2 separate regions of the Homo sapiens genome follow, and region 2 is linked to region 1. Evidence: promoter capture Hi-C in human tissues and cell types (Jung and others, 2019). All regions are on one chromosome and are shown on one strand. The core of a region is centred on a gene start or on the middle of the fragment in contact, and the rest is flanking DNA. Distances in the headings are between cores, read along the strand shown. Region 1 holds the start of PSMD3 (proteasome 26S subunit, non-ATPase 3). Region 2 has its middle 3.7 kb from the start of TOP2A.

Region 1 (2,836 bases), core at 108-2,607:
CACCATCACATCCTCAAAAGCACCACCTAGGAGGATAACTTTGCTTATCTCAATGTTTTTGAGCTAGTTTCTCACGCATTTTAGTGAAAAGAAAACCTAGTAAGTAGTCTGGTCCCACTTGATCCAGAACCAGGAAAATGGCACCAGGATCACAGTGGGAAGCTCTCACTTTGCCCACTTCAAATGGAAACAGGACGCTGTAAGTGGGAAAAGTAAAACATGAACTTGGAGGAACAAGAGGACTACAGACACTCGAAACAGGAACCTCGGAGAAAAGAAATAGGAGACACCGGTATATAGGAGTTTAGGCCAAAGGTTGAGTATTACAAAACCAAACAAAGATGACACCCGAAAAGTTTTAAGTGTGTATGTACTTAAACCCTTTAGAAACAGAGGGGCAGTAAGGACCTGAAGGGAGGAGACAGCAAGGGGACTGTTGGGACACTTCAGTTAGAGAAGTAGGAAACAAGATACTAGGTCGAAATGGTTCATTCGGGGGAGTGTGCTAAAGGCAGCTAGGACAACAAAAATCTGCTGTACAGTTTTAAAACTCAGGAGTCAATATTCTAGGTCATCCTGGCCCTGTTTACACACAGACACAAACACTGGTTTCCAGCGGGAACAATCAGTCATATATTGGAGGCGCTAAAATCAGTCGGGTGGGATATAAACGGAATAGGTCAGAGGGGAGGACTTAAAAGAGGGAGTCCCCAGGCCCACTGGGACCTAGATATAGATGCAACCCCAGATATGGGGATGGAGGGGATGGGAGGGGAGTGGTTCCCAGCCTGGAGAGAAGGTTCAGTCATTGGGCCTGGAGTCGGGAGTGTCGGGGCAGTGGGAGCAGGTATCTGGGGGTGATCCCAAAGAACTGAGGGTGGTGGAGGCTGCTGTGGCTTCCCAGCAAGAAGCCAAATCACAGGGGTCGCTGTCACCCGCGATCGCGGCACGTTCCCGGCCTGGGCTGCCGTACCCTCCAAGGTGACTGTGTCCAGCTCTCGCTGGGAGTGCTCAGCCGCTGCCGCCGCCGTCTTGCCGTCTGCCTCCCCCGTCGACCCGCCACCCGTCGCTGCCTCCTCTTTCATCTCCACATCCTGGGGGGCCGGCGGCGGTGGGGGTTCTTGTTCTCCTCCGCCGGGCGGCGGTTTCGCCTTGTCCGCGCCGCGGCGCCGCGCCGAGCCCTCCTGCTTCATGGCACCCGGGGTCACGGCCTAGTCCGGGGACCGAGGCCGGGGCCTCGCGTTAACCCTCGCACCGGGGACCAGGAGCCGAGCCGGGCCTGCACACGAGCGCGAGATAGCGTCGGGCCGCACGATGACGGAGCAGCTGCAAACCCCTTCCCGGCGCTGGGCCTTCTGGGAAACGCCAGGCCCGGCAGGCCGATGGCCGAGTCAACAAAGGGGAAATAAATCCACAGCCGAGGTGCAGGATGAAGGAGGAGCTTCGAGGAAGGAGCGGGGAGGAGCCTTTATGGGTTCGTGGGGCTTTCTTTCGAGCGCTTAAGTGTGATGCTTTTATGTTCCTCTCGAGTGCATTTCTGTGGGCGTCCACGAGAGGTCCCCTCAGGCTCCAATCTGGGTTACAAAGGACTTTAAGAGCGCCTCAACCAGCGTGGAGTGGGTACAGCCTATCCGAGCGCGGGACGAGATGACGTCACGAGTTGCCGGGCGGGTTTTGCGCCCAAGTTCGCTCAATTTTCCCCGGTCGCGGCGGGGTCTCCTTCCAGATCCGCTGGGCTTGTGCTCAACGGCTGCCGGGCGCATCCGGCAGGAGGGAAGGAAAGAAGGCTGTGAAGGAGGGACGTGAAGCTAGGGCTGTTGGCCTTAAAATAAACCGAACTGGAGAGTAGGAAGAACCCTATGGGATCCGGACTTCCTTGGTTAGATTTGAGTTTAGTGCTGAACATAAGGCATACAATTTCTGCAGGCTGGGAGTGCCGATAGGTAGGAGCGTGCATTTGCGTAGAATCACTCCAGTTTAACAAAATATAGGGGTCCACCCTATGTACGGCCCACGGTTAGCAAATAGGGGGGTGAAAAACAGCTCAAGAATGTAGTATACGGGGGAGTCAGATGGTTAGATAAGCAGACACTGTGCTCTGGGCTGCGGTGGATTGGGAGTGTTGAGGAAAGAGGGTGGGAGCCCCTACTGGCAGACGCTTTAGGGAGCCCATTGAGAGGGCTTTTATACATCCAGACAGACATTGTGAAATGGGGAACAGAATAATGGTGTGCCTAAGGAGAGAATGATGGTTTACTTAGTGGTGTACCTAAGGGGAAGCAAATTGGACAAGAAACCCTACCCACTTATTTTTCAAAGGACTGCCCCACTGGTTCTGCAGGGAAGGTGAAACAAGGTGAAGGATATAGCTCCCAATTTCTTAGAACACACAACAAAAACTCTCTCCCTACCTTGAAACTTTTCTCTCTCCCATAAGTGGAAGTCCTGAGTTTTAGACCTTTCACGGACCCTACAAGACAATCTAGCCCTGTTGTAAGGACCTAGAAGGCAGGAAATATGTTTTGACCTCCTCCTTTGCATATATAAAGGGTATCCTGCATATCTTTTGCATCCTCTTTCATAGGATTGCAGGATGTTCCTTGCGTTAAACAGCCACTCGCTAACTGGAAAGATATGTGCTCTAGTTTTAGGGAACATGCCTTGACCAGTTCCTCCTCAACTGTCCTCTCACCCTCCAGGGCTGGGGGGTGGATAACAGGACTTTTGAATCATCATTGGAATAAACTCATTAGAACCTCTTCATAACACCATATCTGCAACTGAAGGTGGGCGAGAATGGTAAGGAAGAAAACAGATGAGTTATGTTCATCCTTAA
Region 2 (2,836 bases), core at 220-2,719, 440 kb before region 1:
CAGAGAAGGCTCCCTGGGTAGGAGAATTTTGAGCTGGTTTTGGAGAAGGAATTGGTGGGACTAGCAGGGAAGGAAGATCCTGGAAAGGAGCAGAGGTAGTCATTGTTAACATGTCTTGAGCACTTATTACTTGCCAGACAATGCACTAAGAATTTGGTGTAAGAATTTTGCAGAGTGGGGCAGGGTGGGTGGATAATGAGGATAGCTCACCCTATGAAGAGCAGGAGGAGGTACTCCCATTATCCCCATTTTAGATTGTTAAAAATTATAGGCCGGGCGCCGTGGCTCACGCCTATAATCCCAGCACTTTGGGAGGCCGAGGCGGGTGGATCACGAGGTCAGGGGTTCGAGAATAGCCTGACCAACATGGTGAAACCCCATCTCTACTAAAAATACAAAAATTAGCTGGGCGTGGTGGTGGACACCTGTAATCCCAGCTACTCAGCAGGCTGAGGCAGGAGAATTGCTTGAACCTGGGAGGTGGAGGTTGCAGTGAGCCAAGATCACACCACTGCACTCCAGCCTGGGCGAAAGAGCGAGACTCCGTCTCAAAAAAAAAAAAAAAAAATTATGGGAGGTTGGCTGGGAGCGGGGGCTCACTCCTGTAATCTCAGTGCTTTGGGAGGCCAAGGCAGGCAGATCACTTGAGGTCAGGAGTTCAAGACCAGCCTGGCCAACATGGCGAAACCCGCCTCTACAAAAATTAGCTGGGTGTGGTGGTGCACGCCAGTAATCTCAGCTGCTGCAGAGGCTGAAGCAGGAGAATTGCTTGAGCTCGGGAGACCGAGGTTGCAGTGAGCCGAGATCGCACCCCTGCACTCCAGCCTGGGCAATAGAGTGAGACTCCGTCTAAAAAAAAAAATTATGGAGGCCATTGTTTTCAACTGAGCTCCTACACTAGGCCCCAAAAGACTAGACCAAACCAAGATGGAGTAATTCGTGCTAAATGCCATGTAATCCAACTGAAACTTTAAAGAAGCAGATAGATTCCAAAACAGACCACTTTTTCCTGAAAACAGGAGAGTCCAATCTACCTAAGTCAGTTTAATAAGGAAGTCCCCTCTGCTTTAACTCCACAAAAAAGTAACCTGAAGTACCTGATGTTAACCAATCAGGTTTTTTCCTATTGCTGTTTCCTGGTTCCCACCTTACAAAACCCACCATTCTGCTATTGCCCAATGGAAGCTTTCATTCTATTTTGTAGAATGGGGGCTGCCCCAATTCATGAATCACAAATAAAAGTCAATTTGATCTACAACTGAACTTGTAAGGGAGACTGAGTGACTTGCCCAAAGTCATATACCCAGCAAATACCCTAGTCAGGGATCTGCCTTAAGTACTCAACCACATATTCAAGTACAGGTTGGGGGAGGGAGGGGGTAATGTCCAGGTAGCTACTTTGGGCCCCTGCAGAGTGGGGGCAGGGTGGGTGGATAATGAGGATGGTATCTTTCCCCTCCCCCCACCACAGCCCCCTGGAACTACCCCCAACCCCTTCTTGCCTCCCAGGACTGGCAGGCACCTGCAGTTCCCTCTTTTTTTTTTTTTTTTTTTTTTTTTTGAGACGGAGTCTCGCTCTGTCGCCCAGGCCGGACTGCGGACTGCAGTGGCGCAATCTCGGCTCACTGCAAGCTCTGCTTCCCGGGTTCACGCCATTCTCCTGCCTCAGCCTCCCGAGTAGCTGGGACTACAGGCGCCTGCCACCGCGCCCGGCTAATTTTTTGTATTTTTAGTAGAGACGGGGTTTCACCTTGTTAGCCAGGGTGGTCTCGATCTCCTGACCTCGTGATCCACCCGCCTCGGCCTCCCAAAGTGCTGGGATTACAGGCGTGAGCCACCGTGCCCGGCCCTGCAGTTCCCTCTTTGTGTGCAATGCCTTCCAGGCCCACCCATCCCAGACCCCCACCACTATTCTTTCTTCAATAGTCCCCACAAGTCCTGCAGGACCCCCTGCAATAGGCTCTGGGAAGAGGGAGGGACTGGCAGAGAAATAGCTTGTACCCAGAAGAGAAGGGGGGTGGGCCAGAGCAAGACCACCTTGTGCTACAGAGCTGGAAAAGGATTGTCCCCGACACTTGCATATCTCATTTTGCCCTCTGTGTCTTTGATAAAGGATAATGGCATGGGGAAACCAAGAGACCCAGGAAGAATTCTAACTTAGGTGTGTGTGGCCCCAAAGTCCTTTTGTGTTTTTTGTTGTTGTTGTTGTTTGTTTTTTTGAGACGGGGTCTTGCTCTGTCGCCCAGGCTGGAGTGCAATGGCACGATCTCGGCTCACTGCAACCTCCGCCTCCTGGATTCAAGCTATTCTCCCACCTCAGCCTCCCGAGCAGCTGGGATTACAGGCACCCGCCATCAGGCATGGCTAATTTTTTTTTTTGTATTTTTGTAGAGATGGGGTTTCACCAAGTTGTCCAGGCTGGTCTCAAACCCCTGAACTCAGGTGATCCACCCACCTCAGCCTCCCAAAGTGCTGGGATTACAGGCGTGAGCCACCACACCCGGTCCCCAAAGTCCTTTTGACTCCACAGTACTTCTTCTGGGTTTTTGGAACAAAGACACACAGGATCCAGCTAAACTGCAGGACAGATTTAAAGCTGGGCCCCTAAAAAATAGGGCTGGAGCTGCTTGTTAAATTCCTGTTGCCTCATTGCCCAGTGGGTCACTGCAGGCTGGGATGAGCTACAGGGTAGAGGCCGGGAGCTGCAGAAACTGAGCTGCCATCCTTGGGGAAGCATGCCCACCATCCCCACTACCTTGGAGGTAGTGCGTTCTAGGAGGTAGAAGCCAGCATGGCTGGTTTCTGTCAGGGCCCTCGGGTGTCCTGCAGAGAGTGG

Evidence for each region. Contacts are between HindIII fragments. The study calls those that stand out against the background at their distance.
Region 2: a fragment that was not itself captured here is called in contact with the fragment with the promoter of PSMD3 in region 1 in 1 of the 25 tissues and cell types used here (dorsolateral prefrontal cortex).

What each region holds. Positions count from the first base shown.
Region 1 is chr17:39,979,328-39,982,163 of GRCh38, reverse strand. PSMD3 (proteasome 26S subunit, non-ATPase 3) reads right to left here and starts at 1,357. Exons shown (of 12, transcript NM_002809.4): 1 at 974-1,357. The coding sequence starts at 1,193. RefSeq lists a silencer at 1,017-1,066 and enhancers at 469-1,446, 1,247-1,526, 1,747-1,926, 2,348-2,836. The HindIII fragment of the contact is 7,545 bases long and covers 1-2,836 here.
Region 2 is chr17:40,420,169-40,423,004 of GRCh38, reverse strand. No RefSeq gene overlaps it. Among named protein-coding and RNA genes, the nearest start is that of TOP2A, 3.7 kb to the right of the region's middle. The HindIII fragment of the contact is 5,785 bases long and covers 1-2,836 here.